Linked DNA regions of Homo sapiens: all the other regions are linked to region 3. The links are contacts of gene promoters, found by promoter capture Hi-C in human tissues and cell types (Jung and others, 2019). All regions are on one chromosome and are shown on one strand. The core of a region is centred on a gene start or on the middle of the fragment in contact, and the rest is flanking DNA. Distances in the headings are between cores, read along the strand shown. Region 1 overlaps EEF1AKMT1 (EEF1A lysine methyltransferase 1). Region 2 overlaps EEF1AKMT1 (EEF1A lysine methyltransferase 1). Region 3 holds the start of GJB2 (gap junction protein beta 2).

The links. The method cuts DNA at HindIII sites, captures the fragments that hold promoters and counts their contacts. A contact is called where the count stands out against the background at its distance.
Region 1: a fragment that was not itself captured here is called in contact with the fragment with the promoter of GJB2 in region 3 in 1 of the 25 tissues and cell types used here (lymphoblastoid cells).
Region 2: a contact is called between a fragment that was not itself captured here and the fragment with the promoter of GJB2 in region 3, in 1 of the 25 tissues and cell types used here (heart left ventricle).

The regions. Positions count from the first base shown.
Region 1 is chr13:20,760,151-20,764,446 of GRCh38, reverse strand. The region is part of intron 1 of EEF1AKMT1 (EEF1A lysine methyltransferase 1); the gene reads left to right. Among named protein-coding and RNA genes, the nearest start is that of EEF1AKMT1, 12 kb to the left of the region's middle. The HindIII fragment of the contact is 7,304 bases long and covers 1-4,296 here.
Region 2 is chr13:20,729,570-20,733,990 of GRCh38, reverse strand. EEF1AKMT1 (EEF1A lysine methyltransferase 1) reads left to right here. Exons shown (of 5, transcript NM_001318939.2): 4 at 1,870-2,150. Among named protein-coding and RNA genes, the nearest start is that of IL17D, 28 kb to the right of the region's middle. RefSeq lists enhancers at 3,348-3,874, 3,875-4,402. The HindIII fragment of the contact is 5,378 bases long and covers 448-4,421 here.
Region 3 is chr13:20,190,259-20,195,178 of GRCh38, reverse strand. GJB2 (gap junction protein beta 2) reads left to right here and starts at 2,241. Exons shown (of 2, transcript NM_004004.6): 1 at 2,241-2,396. The HindIII fragment of the contact is 6,658 bases long and covers 1-3,238 here.

The DNA.
Region 1 (4,296 bases), core at 1,000-3,499, 570 kb before region 3:
AATATTTCACCAACATAGACCATATCCATAGCTATTACACAAACTTCAGCATTTTTAAAAAGTGTTGAAATTATACATGCTAGAAAACCTAATAGGAAAATCTCCAAACACTTGGAAATTAAACAGTGTCCTTCTAAATATATGGGCCAGAGAGAAATTTAAAAGTACACTGAACTGAATGAAAATGGGTGAAAAAGGACAAAAATTTGCTGGGATGTTGCTAAAAGGGAATTTAAAGCACTGAACACTTAAATTAGAAGAAAGGTCTCAAAACAGTGTTCTAAACTCCCAGAACAAAAAGGTAGTTTAAAACAAATGCAAAGCAAGTAGAAGGAAGGAAATGAAAGGCAGAAATCAATGAAATTGAAAATAAAGTCAATGATGCAAAAACTTATTTTTTAAAAGAGATCAATAAAATTGATGAACCTTTAGTAAGAAAAAAGAGAAAACAGAAATTACTGACATTAGGAATGAAATGGGGGATATCAGTACAGATCCTAAAGACATTAGAAATAATTGAGGACTGCTATAAACATCTCTATCCAGATAAATTTTAACAACTTAGATGAAGCAGACCAATTCGTTGAAACTACAAACTACGAGAACTCACCCCATATGAAACTGATAATGTGAATAGCCGTGTAAGTATTAAATTGAATTTGCAGTTAAAGGCCTCTCATACAAGAAATTTTCAGGCCAGGCATGGTGGCTCATGCCTGTAATCTCAGCAGTTTGGGAGACCTAGGCGGGCAGATCACCAGAGGTCAGGAGTTTGAGACTGGCCTGGCCAACATGGTGAAACTCCATCTCTACTAAAAATGCAAAAATTAGCCAGGGTGGGTGGTAGGCACCTGTAATCCCAGCTATTTGGGAGGCTGAGGCTGGAAAATCGCTTGAACCCAGGAGGCGGAGGTTGCCGTGAGCTGAGATCGAGCCATTGCACTCCAGCCTGGGCGACAATAGCAAAATTCTGTTTCAAAAAAAAAAAACAAAAATTTCGGGCCTTAAATGCTAGGGATGCTATAACAAAATACCGTAGACTGGGTGGCTAAAAGTAATGGCAGAAACAGCAATTACCTTTGCACCAACCTAGCATCTCCAGATATAATTACAATGAGGGTTAAGGCTTTAACATATAAATGGGGTGCAGGGTGGGAGGGGGGTGGTGTGTCAATTGAATCCATAGCACATGATTTCACTGAAAAAAATTACCAAATGTTTATTGCGTTAGCACTGATTGTACACAGTCTTTTCCAGAAAATAGAAGAGGAGACATTTCTAGTTTATTTGATGAGACCAATATTACCTTGTTACCAAAACCAAAGACAATACAAAGACCGAAAACAATAGACAAATATACCTCATGAAGATAGGTGACGAAATCCTCAGCAAAATATTAGTAAATATGATTTAGCAATACATAAGAAGAATCAGTTAAGTGGAACCTATTCCAGGAATGTGAGACTGGTTTAATAGATAATCAGTTTAATTTATATCATGAGGTTAAAGAAAAATCACATGATCGTATAAGTTGATATCAAAAAGTTATTTGAAAATTCAACACCCATTCATGATGAAACTTGGCAAACTACTAATAAAGGGAATGTCCTCATCTTAACATAGAACATCTACACCCTGGGTGTAGTGACTCACACCTGTAATCCCAGCACTTTCGGAGGCTGAGGCAGGAGGAACACTTGAGCTCAGGAGTTTGAGACCAGCCTGGGCACCAGAGTGGGACCCCATCTCTACAAAAAATAAAAATGTTAGCCGGGCATGGTGGCGCATGCCTGTAGTCCCAGCTGCTTGGGAGGCTGAGGTGGAAAGATCACTTGAGCCCAGAAGGTTGTGGCTGCATCATATTTAATGGTGAAAGATTGAATGCTTTCCCACTTAAAATCTGGGACAAGTGTAGGATATCTGCTCTTATCACTCCTATTCAGCTCACTAGAAGTCCTGGCCAGGCACGATGGTTCATGCCTGTAATCCCAGCACTTTGGGAGGCCGAGGTGGGCGGATCACTTGAGGTTAGGAGTTCGAAACTAGCCTGGCCAACATGTGAAACCCCATCTCTACTAAAAATGCAAAAAAATTTAGCTGGGCGTGGTGGCAGGTGCCTGTAATCCCAGCTACTGGGGATGCTGCTGAAGCAGGGAGAATCGCTTGAACCCAGGAGGTGGAGGTTGCAGTGAGCCAAGAATGCACCACTGCACTCCAGCCTGGGCAACAGAGCAAGACTCTGCCTCAAATTAAAAAAAAAAAAAAAAAAAAGACTGATGAAATACATCAAAGATGAACTAAATAAATGGAGAGATGTGCCATGTTTTATGGATTGGAAGACCCCGAAAAATAAAGGTTCTCGTTCTGTTACCCAGGCTGAAATACAGTGGTATGATCTTGGCTCACTGCATCCTATGCCTCCAGACTCAAGTGATCCTCCCACCACAGCCTCCCATGTAGCTGGGTCTACAGGCACATGCCATCACACTCAGCTAATTTTTAAAAACATTTTTGTAGAGACAAGGTCTCACTGTATTGCCCAGGCTGCTCCTAGGCTCAAGTGATCCTCCTGTCTCAGCCTCCCACATTCCACCTGAATTATACACTTTAAATAGATGAATTGTATGGTATATGAATTAGATCTCAATACAAATGTTTTAAAATTTGCACATTTCACTTCAATAGGCATTTCAAAAACAACTACATGACTGCAAAGAGAATCCTGACTTCTCTGGCCACAGTAAACCTCATAGTACAGGGATTCAGTTCTTCATTTGATGAAACCCTCTTATAATGTATCATCATGAAATAAATTTTTTGATGTCCTCAAAATAAACACACTCTAACCATAAAATCCAACATCATACTCTTGAGCATTTATCCAGAGAAATGAAAATGAAAATTCCTATACATTTTACAGGAATGTTCACAACAGCTCTATTTGTAATACCTTAAAATTGGAAACAACCCAAATGTTTTAGTGGGTGAATGGTTAAGTGTGGCCATACTATGGATTACTACTCAGCAATAAAAAGGAATAAACTATTGATACACAGAACAACCTGGGTAAATTTTAAACCATGCTGAGTGAAAATGACAATCTCAAGTTATATAATGTATGATTCCATTTATCTAAAGTGACAAAATTATTGAAACGGAGAACAAATGCTTTCCAGGGGTTAAGAATGGAGATTGAGGTGGGAGAGGATGGGAATGACTTTAAAAAGGTAGTACAACTCATCTCTTTGGTGCTGGAATATTCTGTCTCTTATCCATGGAAGTGTTTTCATGAATCTACACGTGATATCATTATATAAAACTATACACATGTGCATACGCCTGCAAATAAATGTGTGTAAAACTGGTGAACTGCACGAGCTCTGTGGATTGTACTGTTCATTTCCTGGTTTGACAATGCACTGTAGTTATATAAGTTACTACCATTGTGGAAAAATAGGTGGAAGGATACATGGGATGGACCTTCATTATTTTTGCACATTCCTGTGAATCTGTGATTATTTCAGAGTAGAAAGCTTAGGAATGAGAATTGGTGTAGAAAAATAGAAATATTTATGTCCAAATTATCAGATTCTTTTCCAAAAGATTATGCCAATTTAAATTGTTATCTAAATTAGAGAGTATACCAATATCACTACCTTCTCATCAGCATTAAGTGTGTCCATTATTTTGATGTTTTATCTGTGTATTCTTTTTAATTTTTTAGAGTATGTATATTTTTAAATTTTAAAACATATTTTATTTTTAATTTTAGATTCAGGGCATACATGTGCAGGGTATATTGGGTGATACTGGAGTTTGGGTTTCTAGTGAACCCATCACCCAATATTGAACATAATATCTGATAGGGTAGTTTTTTTCAATCCTTCCCCCACTCTTCCCGGCTCCTCTCTTGGAGTCCCTAGTATCTATTATTTCTGTCTTTATGTCCACCTGTACCCATTGTTTAGCTCCCGTCTACAAGTGAGAGCATGTGGTATTTGGTTTTCTGTTTCTCTTTTAATTCACGTAGGATAATAGCCTCTAGCTGCATCCATGTTGCTGCAAAGGACATGATTTCACTCTTTTTTATGGCTGTGTACTATTCCATGGTGTATATGTAGCACATTTTCTTTATCCAGCCCATCTTTGATAGGACGCTTAGGTTGATTCCATGGCTTTACTATTGTGAATAGTCCTGCAATAAACAGCCTAGTACAGGGGTCTTTTTGTTTTACATAGGATTAGCTAACTTACATTCATACCCGCAGTGTATAAGCATTCCCTTTTCTCATATCC
Region 2 (4,421 bases), core at 1,887-4,386, 540 kb before region 3:
GAAACATTATGCGATGTCACGGGTTCTATTATCTGTTGCAGTGTCTTTGGGCTGAGAAGCCTGCTTAGCCCGGCATGGGTACCTAAGTAAGACGGGTAACACTGTCTCTGTTGGAAATGCGTCACACATTTTTAAAGCTGAGCGTAATTTTTAAATTAGGTCCTTTTTTGAATGACAGTGTATGCACATATAAAAATCCAAACGTGACAAAGGAATTGTGAGAAAAGGTCACTCTCTTCTCTATTGTATCCAGGTCCCCCAGGCACTCTCCCATGAGGCAGTCATGGTCACTGTCTCTTGGACACCTTCTAGAGGTCACCTGTACATCTATATGCATATATTCCCACTCCCATGAAAGCATACTTCACACTGTTCTGTTCCTTGAATAGATCTCAGAGATCATTCCTTATCAGCATAGAGAGGGCTGCTTCAGCCTTTTTTAAATGGCCACAGAACTTTCCATTGTAATAGGCATACCAGCTGGGCACAGTGGCTCACGCCTCCTTTAGGAGGTCAAGGCAGGCAGATGTTGAGCTCTGGAGTTTGAGACCAGCCTGGGTAAAGTGGCAAAACCCTGTCTCTATAAAAATAATTAGTGGCCAGGCACGGTGGCTCACACCTGTAATCTCAGTACTTTGGGAGGCCAAGGCAGGTGGATCATGAAGTCAGGAGTTCAAGACCAGCCTGGCCAAGATGGTGAAACCCCGTCTCTGCTAAAATTACAAAAATTAGCCAGGCGTGGTGGCGGGTGCCTGTAATCCCAGCTACTCAGGAGGCTGAGGCAGGAGAATCGCTTGAACCCGGAAGGCAGAGGTTTCAGTGAGCCGAAGTCATGCCACTGCACTCCAGCCTGGGCAACAGAGTGAGACCCTGTCTCAAAAAAAAAAAAAAAAAAAGTGTATCACAGTCAACTCAATAATTCCGTATTTAGGTTACTTCTAGCTTTTTGGCAGTTGGTTTTAACAGTTAACTCTTAAAACACTACCCATTCATAAACTGGGCTGCTGTAATGAGATAGATACTTTAATTTCCTTATACAAAAAAGAAGCAAAGCAGAAATTCAGAATAGCTTGTCTGCAGTGAGAGCACATTTTAATGTATCTTTATGGAAAACTGGAGTGAGTTGGGGAGTTATTTGGGTTTATCTTTCAAGATCATGAATATTACAAAATGACTTTATAGTATTTAGTTGGGACAAAAAGTATTTAAAATAAATATCAAAGGCCTAGCATGAAAATAATAGGTAAATTTAGGCTTTGGGCTAACTACATCTAAATTTTGTCATAATGTGTTCCTGATATTTTACATTTTTCACTATAAAAACTATAGCCTTTCATACCTCAAAATTATAAGCTATAGGCCAGGCGCGGTAGCTCATGCCTGTAATCCCAGCACTTTGGGAGGCCGAGGCAGGCTGATCACCTGAGGTCAGGAGTTCAAGACCAGCCTAGCCAACATGATGAAACCCCATTTCTACTAAAAATACAAAAAAATTAGCCAGGCGCAGTGGCGCGTGCCTGTAATCCCAGCTACTTGGGAGGAATAGCAGGAGAATAGCTTGAACCCAGGAGGCAGAGGTTGCAGTGAGCCGAGATCACGCCACTTCCCTCCAGCCTTGGCAACAGAGTGAGACTCCATCTCAAAAAAAAAGAAAAAAAATTATAAGTTACAGACTTTTAAGTACCAGATTCCTTAAAAGTGAGACACTATAAAGTTTTTTCTCAACATTAACTATTACACTAGTTTGCATTATTGTTTCCTGTAAGAAACTCTGAGCACTCGGACCCATGTATTGTTTAGTGAAGAAGTTGTTAACACCGTAATCTCTCTGTTAAGGATGTTTCATGGTGTGTTCATTTTGTCTCCTAGAATCGCATGTGTGAGTGCCCCTAGTGTTTACCAGAAACTCAGAGAGCTGTGCAGAGAAAACTTTTCGATATACATCTTTGAATATGACAAAAGATTTGCCATGTATGGAGAGGAGTTTATTTTCTATGATTACAATAATCCATTGGACTTACCCGAAAGAATTGCTGCACATAGTTTTGACATCGTAATAGCAGATCCTCCCTATCTTTCGGAGGAATGTCTCAGAAAAACATCGGAAACCGTCAAGTACCTGACGCGGGGCAAGATTCTGCTGTGCACAGGTAGGTGCTGCATTTCATATCTCATCAAAGTCACTGACAGTGGCTATTCAGGTCTTCAGGGTCAAGAAAAAATCCTGAGTCCACCACTTCCTGTGTGACTTGTGAACAAGTTATTTAACTCTTTGTGCCCTGGATTCCTTATCTGTAAACTAGGACTGATAATACTCTGCCATTAAGGGTCCTAAAGAATTAAGTGACACAAAGTACCCAACACTGGGTCTGGTGCATGGTGACTACTTGATGAATGTCAGCTGTTACTTTTACATACCATCATCAATACTATCGGTATCTTATCCAGCCTCTACCCTTTATCAAAGAGAAATTTGGAATCTATAGAGTTTAAGTGAATTGCCTGAGGTTACAGAGTAGACATTAGATTGGGTTAATGTAGAAGAGTTTTCTTACTGGCGAGATCGTTATACTTTTTTTCTCTCTGTAACCTCAAACCATTGGGCTAAGCCGTCCTCCCACCTCAGCCTCCCAAGTAGCTGGAACTTACAGGTGTGTGCCACCAAGCTGGGTTTGATACACTTAAGGCAGATATGGTAAAATTCAATAGAGTAAATCTGAGAACTTCAAGGTGGGAGGATTACTTGAGGCAAGGAGTTCTAGACCAGGCTGGGCAACACAGCAAGACTCCATCTCTACAAAAATTTTAAACATTAGCCAGGTGTGGTTGCATGGGCCTCCCCGCCATTTGGGAGATGGAGGTGGTGTGTCTGCAGTTTCTTCCTTCTGATCGGTTCTTGGTCTCACTGACTTGAAGAATGAAGCCACAGACCTCGTGGTGTTACAGCTCTTAAAGGCGGCACCTCCGGAATTGTTTTTTCTTCCTGGTGGGTTCGTGGTCTCGCTGACTTCAGGAAAGAAGCGGCAGACCCTTGCGGTATGTGTTACAGACCTTAAAGTTGGTGTGGACCCAAAGAGTGAGCAACAGCAAGCTTTATTATGAAGAGCAAAAAACAAACCTTCCACACCATGGAAGAGGACAACACCTGGTTGCACTGCTGGCTGCGGGGTGGCCAGCTTTTATTCCCTCGTTTGTCCCTGCCCACGTCCTGCTTATTGGTCCATTCTACAGAGTGCTGATTGGTCCATTTTTCAGAGAGTGCTGATTGGTCCATTTTACAGAGTGCTGATTGGTGTGTTTACAATCCTCTAGCTAGACAGAAAAGTTCTCCAAGTCCCCACTAGACCCAGGAAGTCCAGCTGGCTTCACCTCTCAGTGGGATGATTGCTTGATCTCTGAAGGTCGAGACTACAGTGAGCTCTGATGGTGCCACTGCACTTCAGCCTGGGCAGGGAGCAAGATTGTCTCAAAGAAAAAAAAATTCTGAGAACTGAAACCTTACCAACTGACCCGTCTCTTTATTTCTGGGTACCTGTGGTGTCCACACCCTTGAGTGCTGTTGTGGACGCTATACCCCAGTCCCTCCGGGCCGCGCTTGTCCCCTGGGCACCCTGCTGGGAACAGGGCTGGGCCAGGAGTGGAGCCACGGGAAGCTGTTCTGGTGTTGCAGAGCTGCGTGTGTGGGAAGGGGCGCTCTGTTCGCACAGATGCCGTGGTTGCCTGCACGCTTATTCACTCCGTTGCTTCCTTGAGCTCTCTGCAGTGCTCTGTGCACCAGCAGGCAGCGCTCTGGCCTCATGGAGTGTGCATTTTAGTTTCAGGGGATACTTTTAAAAAATAATAATAAAATAGACTAAAGGCTGGAAGCACTAACTCTGAGAAGAGTAACAGAGACCCAGGGATCTGCACTTTGCCCCAGGGACCTGAGGGGTCAGGAGCCACGGCCACAGCGGCCCGGGAGGGCAGAGTCGGGGCAGGAGGCCCCCAGTGCCTAACAGGGGACCGTGGGCATTGGGGTTTTCTTCAGAAGCCCAAGGCGACGGGACGCAACTTGTCTGAAGACGTAAGACGTTCGCTTTAACTTGACCGAGGTTTTGGGGCACGTGGACCTGGGCACCGCGGGCTGTTGCTGCACCCCAGGGAGGGCGGTGGCCTGCAAGGAGGGCAGGGCAGGGGCGTCAAAGAGATACTTTGAAGATGAAGTTGAGAGAGCTTGCTGTATTTGAGTGTGGAGGGGAAGAGAGGAGAGGAATCAGGGCTGTGGATGCCACCTCCTGTGGGGATGTCGCAGGGGAGCTGGCTGTGCGCTGTGGGCCCAGGGCGGGGAGAAATTGGGAGCAGATGGCAAAAGGGAGTGGCAATACATTCGCACCTGTGTTTGCAAGATTGGATATTACTGAAAAAGGCTCTTGGCTCAACGT
Region 3 (4,920 bases), core at 992-3,491:
CTCACCTCTCCTCCTTCTCCTCCCCTACACTGGAGGACACTATGTACATGCATATAATGTCCTGCCCTAGAGGAGTCCTGAGCCTACTTGGGAAGAAAACACCAACTCACAGGAAAACAGCAGAAATCACACAAAACAGAATAAAAGCAAGCGCTGATCTGTAAGTGAAGACTTAAGTGCTATAGGACTTCCAGCTACAAATCCTGAAAACACGGAGTGGCTGTGATAATACGACTAGCCAACATCACACAGTAATTTTGCACATAAGGAGAACTAAATCAAAGAAAACAAGGAAAAGAAAGTTGAGCCTATAATCGTGATACAGGCACTAAAATCTCAGGTGACATTTTTCAATGGGGGAAAGTCAGTCAACTTCCGATCTCCAAACCATCTTTACTAGCGAGCTTCCCACAATGGTTCTAGAACCTTCCTTCATTCCAACCCAACCAGGATTCCAACAGACTCATAAACACCACAGCCTTTGAGAAATTAAAGGGAGAACCCACCAACCGGCGCCCCACTCCCCACCCCAAGTCACCTCTGGCTCAACCAAGATGCGCTCAGGCCAAGAAAGCTGCCCCACCCCACAGGCTTTGCCTGTCATTTTTAACAAGCCGACTCAGCACATCTCTCAGATGGGCCATGCAAGGCTTTTCGCAGCTCCTGGGGCTTTGCCTCTTCATGAGCAGACACTCCCTCTTAGACTAAGACCTGGAGCTGGAAAGTAGGTGGTAACCGCGGTACAAAACTCACGCTCGTCCCTGCAGAAACTGCCTAGGTCGGCCCATGGCCACGGGGCGCCAATTTTTCAAGGAAAAGTCAATGCTAATAATGGTGGCAATCACGGGAAATCCATTCTGAGGCCAGATCTGACTTGTCAGGATTAATCATCATTTCCACTTAACTTCGAACTGACCTGGGTAAAAACGTGAGCGCGAGGGGACCAGGCTGCACCTCTGACCTGGCTCCCCTCTGCAAAAATCGCGAAGTGGGTGCCCGAGGTGGGGCGGGGGTTGGGGGAGACCTCCCCGGGAGTCCCCACCCAGCCTGCTCTGCACATCTTAGTCCCTCATCCGCTTGCGCTGTGCAAATCTGTCTTCTGTCATTTGTATCGCAAGACATCAAAATCCCCAACCAAATGCAAATACTGAGACCTCATAATCTGAGACAAAGTTTCACGGTATCCAGAAAGCCCCCAGCAGGTGTGCAGTGCAGAGCCAGCCCCCCAGCGGTCTTCCGCAGAATCCTATCAGTTTCCCCCTTTCGTGCTGTGTGCATCGAGCAGGAAGGGGCTTGGCAGGTTTTACCTGCCCTCTTTCCTTTCTGAAAAGTCTGGGCCTCCTCACCCCGAAAGGAGTCACCTCCTTGCAGTTCCCCAGTTGCGAAAAGAGGAGGAAGTTGGCTGGGCCGGGGGCCGCGGGGGGCACCCTCCGCAGATGGCGGGACCCCCCTGCCGGCCATGGCAAAAACGAGGCTTGTCTCTCCCACCGCCCCCAACCTTAGTCCTTGGCACATTGTTGAAAGTAATTGAATAAAATCGGAAATTCGAGAAGGCGTTCGTTCGGATTGGTGAGATTTTGAGGGGAGAAAGAAGCGGGGACTTCGCCGGCACCAGCGGCGCCCCCTCCTCGGCCACCGTTAACCCCCATTCCAGAGGGCACTGCCCCGCCACCCAGCCTAGGTCCCCCTGCGAGAGCCTCGCGGGCCCGCGCAGCCTCCGCGACTCGAACAGATCTTCAGTCCTTGGAGGAATGCCTGTTTCTCTAACAATAAAAAATTAAAGAAGCGCTCATAAATGCCAAGTCCTCTCGCACTATGCGGAGTACAGAGGACAACGACCACAGCCATCCCTGAACCCCGCCCACGGCACAGCGCCGGAGCCGGGGTCTGGGGCGCCGCTTCCTGGGGGGTCCCGACTCTCAGCCGCCCCCGCTTCACCCGGGCCGCCAAGGGGCTGGGGGAGGCGGCGCTCGGGGTAACCGGGGGAGACTCAGGGCGCTGGGGGCACTTGGGGAACTCATGGGGGCTCAAAGGAACTAGGAGATCGGGACCTCGAAGGGGACTTGGGGGGTTCGGGGCTTTCGGGGGCGGTCGGGGGTTCGCGGACCCGGGAAGCTCTGAGGACCCAGAGGCCGGGCGCGCTCCGCCCGCGGCGCCGCCCCCTCCGTAACTTTCCCAGTCTCCGAGGGAAGAGGCGGGGTGTGGGGTGCGGTTAAAAGGCGCCACGGCGGGAGACAGGTGTTGCGGCCCCGCAGCGCCCGCGCGCTCCTCTCCCCGACTCGGAGCCCCTCGGCGGCGCCCGGCCCAGGACCCGCCTAGGAGCGCAGGAGCCCCAGCGCAGAGACCCCAACGCCGAGACCCCCGCCCCGGCCCCGCCGCGCTTCCTCCCGACGCAGGTGAGCCCGCCGGCCCCGGACTGCCCGGCCAGGAACCTGGCGCGGGGAGGGACCGCGAGACCCAGAGCGGTTGCCCGGCCGCGTGGGTCTCGGGGAACCGGGGGGCTGGACCAACACACGTCCTTGGGCCGGGGGGCGGGGGCCGCCTTCTGGAGCGGGCGTTTCTGCGGCCGAGCTCCGGAGCTGGAATGGGGCGGCCGGGGAAGTGGACGCGATGGCACCGCCCGGGGTGCGAGTGGGGCCGGGCGCGCGCGGGAGGGGAAAAAGGCGCGGGCGAGCCGCCAGCGCGAGGTTTGTGGTGTCGCCGATGTCCCTTCGGGGTACTCTAGCGCAGCCGCCTGGCTACTTGACCCACTGCCACCAAACGTTTTAAATTCACCGAAAGCTTAGCTTCGAAGCAAAGCTCCGTTTCGCCGGTGAAGCAGGAAGCCTTCGCTGCAGGAACTGACCTTTACCTCTTGGAGCGGCTTCTGCAGAAAAATCCCCGGGCAGAGATTTGGGCGGAGTTTGCCTAGAACTAACGCGGAGCCAGCCGATCCCGGCCTACCCCGGGGCCAAGATTTCAGTGGCTTCCCTTTTTCCTAAACACTTCACGAGGGTCTGTTTCCGGGCTGTGCTCCCCGCCTAGAAGGAAAATTTTTAGGACCCTTGTTCGCGAAGAGGTGGTGTGCGGCTGAGACCCGCGTCCTCAGGACGGTTCCATCAGTGCCTCGATCCTGCCCCACTGGAGGAGGAAGGCAGCCCGAACAGCGCTCACCTAACTAACAGCTGCTGAGAGCTGGGTTCCGTGGCCATGCACCTGGGACTGCCTTGAGAAGCGTGGTACGGCCGTGTCCCCATGTGACCTTAGAGTCCCTTTCGAAACTGCTGTGCACAGTCGGTCACAATTTCAGACACTGGTGAGAAGGGTGGAGGAACCCTCTGGGGACAGCCAGGCAAGGTCGACCACCCATCACCTAAGGGTGGAGAAATTTAAGGGGTGAAGAGTCCCTTTTGCCTTTTCTGGATCCTGGTGATTCACCTAGTGTCTTCCCTAAGGAACTGAACCAACTCCTCCGCTGGCCTCTGGCAGCCCTCCAGGCGGTGCAGGATGGCGTGGGCCCGGTAGGAAGCTGCATGTAACCGCCCAGGGTCGGGAGGCCAGGAGGGCAGCTCCTCCTCTGACTTGAATATTGAAAACAACTTCGTCCTGCTTCTGAGCCCCTCTTAACCCATGACCCCCTAGCCCATTGGGGAGTAAATCTTAATTTACTCCTCTTCCTGAAAAAGGATCTTTAAAACAGGTAGCTTCAACTCAAGCTTTATAAAATAACAATATAGGGTTTCTCGGAACTGTATTTTTCTCAGCTGATGGTAACTGGACAGGTCTGTAGAAGGGTGTATGACCTGGGTTTGGCAGGTGGAAGAGGGCAAAGGATAAACCCCTCCTCCTGCAGCCCCATATTCTTGGCCAGGTGTATTGTTGTAAACCAGGAGAGAGTTTACTTCGGGGAGTATCCTGTTTTCCACTCAGTGAGGGCCAATGAAGAATGTCTAATTCCATAAGATGCTTTTGTTAAAATCGGAATGTTGCTGTCCTCGGTGGTTCTGCTGTTGGGACGGGACTGGCCTGAGCTGTGGGTGCTGTAGCAGGACAACCAGCTCACCTAAGGGCCTCCCAGTCTGGATTATCAATGGGTCAGTGCTGAACCTGGGCTAAAATATTGTTTTTTCCAATGATGTTGTCTTTCCCAAGCTCAGTGAAGCTAAATGTTTCACAGGCCTATGTCAATCTGATGTAACTTTCGTGGCCACCTCTCTCCTGTTAGCCTCTGACCAAGGTGGCACTGGATGGTTTCTGCCTGACCTTGGTGCCCCGTGGCAGCGACTGTGGGTCATGAAAGACATTCACTACGAGCCTGCTTCTGGAGTCCATCAGAAAACGGGATGCAACTTGCCTAAAATGAGGAGAGGAGGATGCTTTTAAGAAAAAGAAGAAGGAGGATTCACTACCAGCTCTGAAGGGTGGAAAAGAGATGATTCATCCGGATTGTGGAGAGGGTGGAATCTTGTTTAGGAGAGCGTTGGTTGTGGCAGGCAGGGTGTAACTATGAATCAGTGAAGACAATTCACATCCTGGGATGAAAAGAAGGCCATGGGCTCACAGGAGATTATCCACTGGCCTCTCCACATCCGCTTGCAGTAAGGAGTGTGGGACTCTCCCAAGCTTCAGCGCTGAACTGCAATGCAGTGACGTCGCTTAGCTGGGCCAGTAACCGAGGGAGTTGAATTTTCTGTCATTTTAAAATAATGTGTCTTTTAAGAAACACTTTGAAATTAAAACCACAGCCCACAATTATAATGCACTGTTGCAGCACTTATCAAAACAGATATGCTAACTGAGCCATCAGTGCCAGCCTGACAGTGAGGCCACCAAGCCATCCACAAAGCCTACACGAAAGTCTGTGCTCACAGTGGCTTTTCTCCATGAAGAGGGCATTCCTAACCTCTTCCTTTCACGTAGGAGGAAGCAAGGTCCTTTGTA